Linked DNA regions of Homo sapiens: regions 1 and 2 are each linked to region 3. Evidence: promoter capture Hi-C in 16 types of primary human blood cells and fetal thymus (Javierre and others, 2016). All regions are on one chromosome and are shown on one strand. The core of a region is centred on a gene start or on the middle of the fragment in contact, and the rest is flanking DNA. Distances in the headings are between cores, read along the strand shown. Region 1 holds the start of CRIP2 (cysteine rich protein 2). Region 2 has its middle 12 kb from the start of TMEM121. Region 3 holds the start of JAG2 (jagged canonical Notch ligand 2).

What was found. The method cuts DNA at HindIII sites, captures the fragments that hold promoters and counts their contacts. A CHiCAGO score of 5 or more calls a contact.
Region 1: the fragment with the promoter of CRIP2 here is called in contact with the fragment with the promoter of JAG2 in region 3 in 3 of 17 cell types (monocytes, non-activated CD4 T cells and total CD8 T cells); the score reaches 7.9 in monocytes.
Region 2: a fragment that was not itself captured here is called in contact with the fragment with the promoter of JAG2 in region 3 in 4 of 17 cell types (total CD8 T cells, naive CD4 T cells, naive CD8 T cells and 1 more); the score reaches 7.1 in total CD8 T cells.

The regions. Positions count from the first base shown.
Region 1 is chr14:105,473,203-105,476,181 of GRCh38, reverse strand. It overlaps CRIP2 (cysteine rich protein 2), which reads right to left and starts at 1,361. Exons shown (of 8, transcript NM_001312.4): 1 at 1,277-1,361. The coding sequence starts at 1,319. RefSeq lists silencers at 1,339-1,448, 1,629-1,698, 1,969-2,118, 2,209-2,298, 2,309-2,358 and an enhancer at 2,387-2,919. The HindIII fragment of the contact is 47,861 bases long and covers 1-2,979 here.
Region 2 is chr14:105,537,125-105,540,053 of GRCh38, reverse strand. It overlaps the pseudogene ATP5MC1P1. Among named protein-coding and RNA genes, the nearest start is that of TMEM121, 12 kb to the right of the region's middle. The HindIII fragment of the contact is 2,155 bases long and covers 484-2,638 here.
Region 3 is chr14:105,166,939-105,170,133 of GRCh38, reverse strand. JAG2 (jagged canonical Notch ligand 2) reads left to right here and starts at 1,358. Exons shown (of 26, transcript NM_002226.5): 1 at 1,358-1,779; 2 at 2,027-2,377. The coding sequence starts at 1,714. RefSeq lists an enhancer at 2,137-2,636. The HindIII fragment of the contact is 17,945 bases long and covers 1-3,195 here.

The DNA of each region.
Region 1 (2,979 bases), core at 112-2,611, 310 kb before region 3:
GTTGGACTGCAGAAGGGCCCTGGGGACCGTCTCCCACCCTAAGCCTTACAGAGACAGCCCTCGCTGGGACAGAGACTGAGGGCTGAGCGGGCTCCAGGAGAGGCAGCCGGAAGCCCCTCGGCTCCCAGCCACGCCAGAAGCACTCCAGGCCAAATCCGGTCCCTCCCCTCTGGGACGGGCAAAATACAACCTCCCCTCAACCCCCTCCAGCCTGTGAGCCGGGGAAGCCCAGTGGCGGCCTTCCCTGCAGCCTGGCCGCATTCTGGGTATGGGGCGACCAGGGCAGGCGCCCTGTTGGTCCCGGCCCTCCTCTCTGCTTCACTAAGTCTGCCCCCCTTCGTGCAGCAGCTGGTGGGTAGGTGGGCAGGGACCTTACCACCCTGGAGAAAGCTGGGCAGCGAATCAGCCAGGAGGAAGGGGGTAGGAAGGGCGCACCCAGGCCCAGAGAGTGAGTAAGCCCAGACGGGGGGAGCGCGCCTGCCGGAGGGGCTAGACCGAGGGCCGCCTTGCGAGACATCCCTCTTCCCGCCACCACCTGCATCCTGTCCAGGGCTGTTCTGACCTTGAGGAGGCAGGGATCCTGGACACCTGGGCTGCTTGAGCACAAGGTCCCTCTCACGTTCGCGGGAACTCGCGTGTCACACCCGCCCCCACCCTACCCCCGTGTGAAACTCCTGGGGGAACTGGCGCCAAGGGAATGCGTCGGGACAAGCAGGAGGCAGAGGCCAAGGTCGCCCCCGCTTGGACTGAATCCCGACAGAGTCCAAACCTGGCCCAGCCCAGCTCAGCGGAGCCCGGAGTGGGAGCTGGGGGTCACTGTTCCCGGCCACTTGTTCCCGGGGGAAGCGGGTGTAGGGGGTCCAGGAGAAAGGGCCCAGGCCCACGGGAGCGCGCGGGACGCACCCGGGGCGTACAGCCACGCCCTGCCCCGCCCCGCCCGGCGCCGTCCGAGGAACCGGGATGCGTCCGCGGATCCCCGAGCGCTCCCCCAAACACTGGCCTCATCCCGGGGCACCACAAGCCCCGCCCGGGTGGTCCCTGCCCCGCCCCCACAAGCCGCTTCGGGGTTCGGGCGTGACCGCCCCCGCTTTCGCGCAGCCCCACCCTTTGGCTTTAGCCGCTTGGGCAGCGCGGCCAGCCAGCCTCCGGGACGCGCATCCTCGGTCCGGGGCCGGGGCCGGGCGCACCCCGAGTTACGCCGCGGCTCTGCGGCGCGGGACTGGCCGCGAAGGGCGGCGGGATGCACCGAGCGGGCCGGGAGCGGGCACGCACTCACCGAAGTACACGGTCTTGTCGCACTTGGGGCATTTGGAGGCCATGGTCGGTGCGCCCGGTCGGCCCGCGCCCTCCGCCCGTTCTCCTCCGGGCCGCCGCCGCCCGCGCCCAGCCCCGCCTGCCCGGCTGTCCGCGCGCCCATTGGCTCCGCGGCCGGGGCGGGGCCTCGATAACCCGTCCCCCGGGCTGGGGGCCGCCTGGGGGCGCCGCGGGGGCGGGGCGCACCTGCCGGGGGTGGCGGGTGCGGGGCAGCCGGGCCAGGCCTGGCGCCCCCGGGCCCCTCGCGCCGGAGGTGGCGTCTACAGGGGCCCGCCCGGGCGACCGCGGCGCCGCCCGCGCCCCGGCTGTTTCCATGGCGACGTCGGGGCCGCCTGGCCGGGCCGTCCCCGGGGCGGCGGGCAGGGTGCGGGGAGCCTGGCCCTCGGCTCTCGGGGAGCCCTAGTGACTTGGGCCTAGGGGTCCAACACTCCCGGCCCTGGGCGCCCAGGCTGCGCTCCGCCGCGGGAAGGGGTCGCAGGCTCCGGGAGAACCCCACCCCCACCCCGCCGCGCGCGGCGCCTGTCCCGCTTCCCTTTGTTGCTCGGTTTCCATAGCAACAGCCGCGCCGCGGGAGCGGAGTCAGATTCCCGGCGGGCACGGCCCCCAGCCCTGTCCGGGTCTCCATGTCCCGCTCCGCCCCCGCCCGCGCCCCGCCCCAACACTGTCTGTGGTGCTGAAGGCTCCTTGGGTGGAGGGCAGGGCTCAGGAAGGAAGGCGCCGCCACCTCCAGAAACAGCTCGAGAAGCTGCTGGTAGGGGGTGTGGGGAGGTCTGCGTCTGCCTCCCAGGCAGGGAAGGGGCGGCGGGCACCAGCGCCGAGGGATCCGCGCTTAAGGCGTCCACCCCAAGCACTTCCACCCAGGGGGCGGCCGGGGAGGCGGTGAGGAGTTAGGAAGGGAAGGAGGGGAAGGAGTGGGCGTGCCCTCTGTGCCCCGGGCTGGGGCTGACACTCCAGTCCCTTCTCCCGCACCGCCCAGGACCAGCTGCGTGCCTGGGGGCCCAGGGCCTGACCTCGAGGGGTCAGGCGGGAGATTGAGGGGTCATGCCAGTCACCGCACCCCCACACCCCCACTCTGGCCTCCTCCCAACCAGGGCGTGCCTGACCACGCCTCACCACAGTGCCTCCGCCCTAGAGCCCCGTAGAGCCTGGCCCCAGGTGGGGAACCTCCGCACCCACGGGCTTCCTGGTGCTCTGTCCCCATGGGCCCTTCTCTGAGCCTTCTGGCCCCAGCTGAGCGTCGGCCTGGGAGACAGGCAGATCCCAGAAGCCCAGTGATCAGGCCCTATGGGGGCAGCTGACTCTGGACACCCTTCCCCCTGTGTCTTGGAGGCTGTGGGCTGGACACGGAGACCTACCTGTTCCCTCTGCCTGGTGCACCAGGCATGTTTGTGAGCCAACCAGAGGCCCTCGGTGCTCCTGGCTTTCATGGTGGTCCTGGCTGGGCTCTCTGTGGCAGCACCCTCCTCCCTTGCACACACACCCTGCAGCCACTGCCATTTCCATGGTGACAGCAGGCCAGAAACATGCCCCCCGCCCCCCCGCCCGACTGACCAGCCTGACCAGCTCCCCCTCTGCACTTGGGACCTGTGCCAGCCAAGGCAGAAGATGGTGAGGAGGCATCAGTCAGTACCTTTTCTGGGCAGCCCTTCCTCCCTGGCAGGCCCA
Region 2 (2,929 bases), core at 312-2,811, 370 kb before region 3:
GTGGGCTCTGTGTGCATAAATGCATGGACATCATTTTACGTAGATTCTTTCTATATTATGTATCATAAAATTTTAACAGAAAAATGTATTATCAAATCACCTAAAAGCGCCAGGTGTGGTGGCTCACGCCTGTAATCCCAGCACTTTAGGAGGCCGAGGCGGGCGGATCACGAGGTCAGGAGATCGAGACCATCCTGGCTAACACGGTGAAACCCCATCTCTACTAAAAATACAAAAAATTAGCCGAGTGTGGTGGCATGTGCCTGTACTCCCGGCTACTCAGAAGGCTGAGGCAGGAGAATCGCTTGAACCCAGGAGGCGGAGGTTGCAATGAGCCAAGATCGCACCACTGCACTCCAGCCTGGCGAGAAAGCAAGACTCCGTCTCAAAAAAAAAAAACAAAAAAAAATCACTAAAAGCTGTGGAACAAGGAGGACACCTTAACTTATATGAAAATTGATCATCTGGGCCAGTTCTGAAGCTTGTCTCAATCCAGATTTGTCAGAAACTGGATCCAGTGAGCACCATCGCCTGCCCCAGACCCAATCAGCCAAGCATGGGGAGAGCAAAGAATTTCGAAGTTTAAAGTGTGCCATGAAGAACTGCTTTGTGTTGGATAAATAAGTTTAAATTATTTGAAATCTGGATTTTTATTTCTTTCTTTGTGTTTTGTGTGGGTTTTCTTGAGACAGGGTCTTGCTATGTTGTCCAGGCTGGAGTGCAGTGGCACCATCTCTGCTTGCTGTAGCCTTGACCTCCTGGGCTCAGGTGATCCTCCTGCCTCAGCCTCCTGAGTAGCTGGGACCACAGGCACGCGCAACCATGCCTGGCTAATTTTTAAAATTTTTTTAGAGACAAGGTCTCACTACATTGCCCAGGCTGGTCTCAAACTCCTGGGCTCAAGCAATCCTCCTCCCACCTCAGCCTCCCAAAGTGCTGGGATTGCAGGGGTGAGCCACAGCACCCAGCCCTCAGAAATCTTTTGTAATGCCCAGTGATGTTTGTAATGTGTTGATAACAGACACCAAGTCAGGGTCTCTCGTTCCTGAACACAAGTGGGACAGAGTCCCAGCCTTCTTGTGGCAGATGTCACCGTGAGGCTGGGCCCTGGACAACAGTGAGTGAGATAAGCCGGGGAGCTTCGACCGGGCCAGGCTGTCGGGGCCTCAGCCCGAGTGTGACCCAGGGCAAGCCAGGGTCAGTCTGCGATGAGCGTCAAGGTTCAGTGTGGACCTGCACTCAGGGCCTGGGACTGTGGGAGACACGTCCGTCGGGGACGAGGCCGAAACAAACAGCCCCAAGCGCTCAGTGGCTTCAGCAGCAAAGGGTTGTCTCCTGCTTGGGCTTTGGTGGGGAGGTGGGATCCACTCCAGAGCTCACTCAGGGCCCAGGCTGAGGCAGCCCCACCTTCCTTAGCCCACCCCGTGCAACCGCAGCCTCTCCGGACGCTGCAACAGGGAGATGCTGCTGGGCCATGGTCAGCCGGGAGGTGACACAAAGGTGGCGCAGGAGGTGATGCGGGAGGTGACACAGAGCTGATGCAGGTGATGCGGGAGGTGACACAGAGCTGATGCAGGTGATGCGGGAGGTGACACAGAGCTGATGCAGGTGATGTGGGAGGTGACACAGAGCTGATGCAGGGGATGTGGGAGGTGACACAGCTGATGCAGGTGATGTGGGAGGTGACACAGCTGATGCAGGAGGTGACATGGAGGTGACACACAGATGACACGGGAGGTGACGTGGGAGTTGATACGAACCCACTGGCCAGGCCCTCGCTGCCGGGGCAGGCAGAGGCAAGGGAGCAGATGAGTGTTCAGTGAGCAGAATCGGGCTCGGGTTCTGGTCAGGGGCATCAGCACAGCCTGGGGCTGGGGCAGCCTCAGCCTTTGGCCGCGCAGGGTCCTGTGGGGTCGGGGGGTCGGGGCACCACTGGCAGGTCCCGGTCTCACAGCCGGGTCCCGCGGCTCCCTCCTCAAAGGGACCCAGAGCCGGGCTCGGGAGCCCCCTTGTGGCCATCTGGCGACACTGCAGGCTCCGCCGGCGCGAAGGTCCAGAGGCTCCCGCATGCCCCAGCCAGGTAGGGTTCTCAGGCAGGTGAGCTTTGTGGGCAGCCTCACCTGCCAGGAATATGTGTGCCCCCTGCCTGCAGGCCAGCCTTGGCCACGGTCCAGTCCCAACATAATATCACTTGGTGAGGCCTACCCTGACCCAAGGCCTGCCTGAGTGGGGTCTCTCTGTGTGGCCCTGCCCCAACCTCCCTGCATCACACTCCACCCCACGCACCTGTGTGATACCTGTCTCCCTCCAGGCGTGGAGCCTCTCCTCCTAGGAGGCATCCCAGAGACACCCCGGGGGGCCGGGGTCACTCAGGTGCACCCCACAGGTGCAGGTTGCAGGTGGGAGAGCAGCACACAGCTGCTGTGTGGCTCCTGCAGTGGGCCCTGCCTCCCATGCTGTGGATTTGGCATCCGGTACACAGGCCCACTGCGCCTCACCATCCCCTCCAGGCCCACCAGCCGTTTCTGTGCAACTTCCCGCAGCAGCCTTGAAAGTGTTCACTGTGGGAACGCAACACGGACCAGCTCTCGAGGAAAGCACCCCCTGGGGCGGATACTCATGAGGGCGGGAGAAAGCTTTCCTCAAGGCTCACGCACTTTGAAACATGTTTCCGATGATCTCCACATTCAGCTTATTTCATAAGCAATGAGTAAAAGTGAGTCGGTCACCTTAGGTCACCTTCAGCCGGGCGAGTGCTGTGGGCCCGCAGGTGCTGCAGGGCAGTGGGAGTGCAGACAGAAAATGCAGACCCCCGGGCATTACTCACCTCTCCAGCTCTGGTCCGCTGTTGTACCACGGGTCTAATCAGGCTGTGTCTGTCTCCTTCTTGAACAGCCCAGAAAATTCATCTGAACAGCCTTCCTACAGC
Region 3 (3,195 bases), core at 109-2,608:
TACCCACCACCAAGTTTGGGGTGGGCACTCTGAGCAGAGCCAGCTGAGGTGGGCATGGGGGGCTCCCACCCACCCCTTTAGGGACCTTCAGCTGAGCCTGCGGCCTGGATCCTGGAGGAGCTGCTAAACAGGGATGGAGCAGGCAGACCCTGCGCATGGGGTGTTCACAGGCCCTGTGCCTCCAAAGCTCTCTTCCTTCAGCCCTCAGCCCCAGCAGCATGGTGGCAGTGACTTGCTCCAGGCTGGGGGGCTGCACAGCCACCCAGCTCCGGGCACAGGGCAAATTTGCGAGAGGAGCTAGGGGGAGAGAAGACAGCTCAGTTATCATGGGGATGGGTTGAGGACCCCTCTGGACCATATGGGGATCTTTAACCACCAAGGTGACCCCTAGCTCTGGAAAGGACCGTGCTCACTGGAGGAGAGGAAGGTGCCATTGGTTTTGACCCTGTGGAGGAGCTGCGAGGTCACCCAGGGAGAGGGCAAGGAGGTGACCGCAGAGGATGGGGTGTGGAAGCCTGGTGACCAGGGCAGCAGTGGGAGGCCTCTCTCGGGGTAGCCTTCAGGGACAGGCACTGCCGACTTTTGTTCCCCATTTCCCGCCTCTCGCCCCCCAAGCCCAGACCTGAGTTTGGGGGGCGAGAGGCGGGAAACGGGGAATGTGGCCTGAGCATTTCCTGAGGGCATGGCCTGGCTACCTCGACGCCAGCGCCGAGCTGAGCAGTCTGCACCCTGGAGCATTTGTTGACTGGCTGCTTGACCAGCGCGCCTCGCAGAGGGGAAGGCAGGGGCGTCGGAGGGGCGCAGCGCCCCCTGCAGCCGGCGTGGAGGCGGTAGGAGCGGCGCGGAGAAGGGGAGATTCTCGGAGGAGGTGGGGGGCGCGCAGTAGGGGCTGGGCCCGGCTCTGGCCCCAGGGCCGCGCCACCCCGCGTGGGGGCCGAGCCCTGATCAGAGTAGGAGGCGGCATCTCCTCTGGGACTGCGAGGAGCGCGGCGGTGGCGCACTGATGGGAGGGGACCACACGGCAACCTCGGGGCGCCCCACCCCCGGTTTCTGACACCCGGCAGGAGCCCAGGCGGAGGAGGGGAGGCAGCTTTGCGGCGCCGGCGCACGCCTCGCCGACTCACGCGGAGGTGTGAGCGGGGCCCCCGCGGCCCGCGCTGACCCCGAGGCCCCGTGCCCCCGCCGCCCGGGCGCCCTGGGGGGCGCGCGCCGGGCCGGGGCGCTGGCAGGCGACGCCCTCCACCGCCTTTAAAGCCTGGGGCGCCCCCGGACCCCCCCCCGGCCCCACCCCGCGGCGCGGCCCCGCCCCCTCATGCATATGCAGGTGCGCGGGTGACGAATGGGCGAGCGAGCTGTCAGTCTCGTTCCGAACTTGTTGGCTGCGGTGCCGGGAGCGCGGGCGCGCAGAGCCGAGGCCGGGACCCGCTGCCTTCACCGCCGCCGCCGTCGCCGCCGGGTGGGAGCCGGGCCGGGCAGCCGGAGCGCGGCCGCCAGCGAGCCGGAGCTGCCGCCGCCCCTGCACGCCCGCCGCCCAGGCCCGCGCGCCGCGGCGCTGCGCTCGACCCCGCCCGCGCCGCCGCCGCCGCCGCCTCTGCCGCTGCCGCTGCCTCTGCGGGCGCTCGGAGGGCGGGCGGGCGCTGGGAGGCCGGCGCGGCGGCTGGGAGCCGGGCGCGGGCGGCGGCGGCGGGGCCGGGCGGGCGGGTCGCGGGGGCAATGCGGGCGCAGGGCCGGGGGCGCCTTCCCCGGCGGCTGCTGCTGCTGCTGGCGCTCTGGGTGCAGGTGAGCGGGGCGGCGGGGGCGGCGGGGGTCGCGGACGGGGCACACCGGGCCGCCCCTAGGGGCCGGGCGGGCACTGCCTGGGGCCGCCGTGGTTCGGAAGCCCTCGAGGCTGCGCGCGGCGGCTGGGGCTCCGGGCGGGCGCGGCTGGGTGGGGGCGGGGCGGCGGGGCCTGTTCCCCCACCCCTGGCGCCCGGCCCGCCGACCCCGGCCCGCGCCTCCCTCCGCTCTCCCGCTGCCTTATTTTTAGGCGGCGCGGCCCATGGGCTATTTCGAGCTGCAGCTGAGCGCGCTGCGGAACGTGAACGGGGAGCTGCTGAGCGGCGCCTGCTGTGACGGCGACGGCCGGACAACGCGCGCGGGGGGCTGCGGCCACGACGAGTGCGACACGTACGTGCGCGTGTGCCTTAAGGAGTACCAGGCCAAGGTGACGCCCACGGGGCCCTGCAGCTACGGCCACGGCGCCACGCCCGTGCTGGGCGGCAACTCCTTCTACCTGCCGCCGGCGGGCGCTGCGGGGGACCGAGCGCGGGCGCGGGCCCGGGCCGGCGGCGACCAGGACCCGGGCCTCGTCGTCATCCCCTTCCAGTTCGCCTGGCCGGTACGTGCGCTCCATCCCTCGTGCTCCAGCCCTTCCCTCTCTCTCCGCGCCCCGGCCCCGCGCGCTTCGCGACCCCCAACACCTGCGGCCGGGTCTGCGTGCGAGCCGCGCGCGCCCAGGCGGGGCGGGGCCGGCAGGGGGCGCGTGCTCTGGGGACTTGGTCCGCGCCTGGCCACGTGGGCGCGCCGGGGCCCCGGGGCCACCGGGAGCGGGGTCGCGGCGGGGGCGGGGCGGCGGCGTCCCGCGTGCGCGGCGGTGTGCGGCGTGTGCCTGCGTCGCCCTGCGCGTGTCTGTCTGGGTGGGGAGGCGAGGCGAGGCGCCCCGGTCCCGGGCAGGCCGCGGTGGCATGTGCGCAGCGCGTGCTGGGGCTGGTCTAGGGCAGGCCCTGACTGAGCCGCCCCGGGCCCGTGGCCAGCCTGCGCCTGCCCTGCAGTTTCCTGGATGCCTGGGGGGCACGGGCGGGCGCCGTGGGACCTAGGCCCGGGAGAGCCTAACGCCTAACGCTTATGTCGGCAGAAGCCCCCGATGGTGACCCAAGATCGTTCAGAGACAGAGATAGTGGATCCTGGTGCAGTGACCTTCTGTGGCACTGCCCTGTTTGTGGGTTTTTTTGGTTTTGTTATTCTGGAGGGGCAGAAGCTGAGTCGGGGCTGTCTGGTCTCCCCTGGCAGGTGGCCAGTCAGGCAGGAGCCCTGGCCTGGGCGTGCTGGGAGGAGGGGTGGTAGGGGTCCAGTGTCACTGGGAAACAGGTACTCATCCCAGTGGGCTGGCAGGTGGGTAGTGGTAGGTGGGCAGGCCCAGGCCTCGGGCGCCTTACC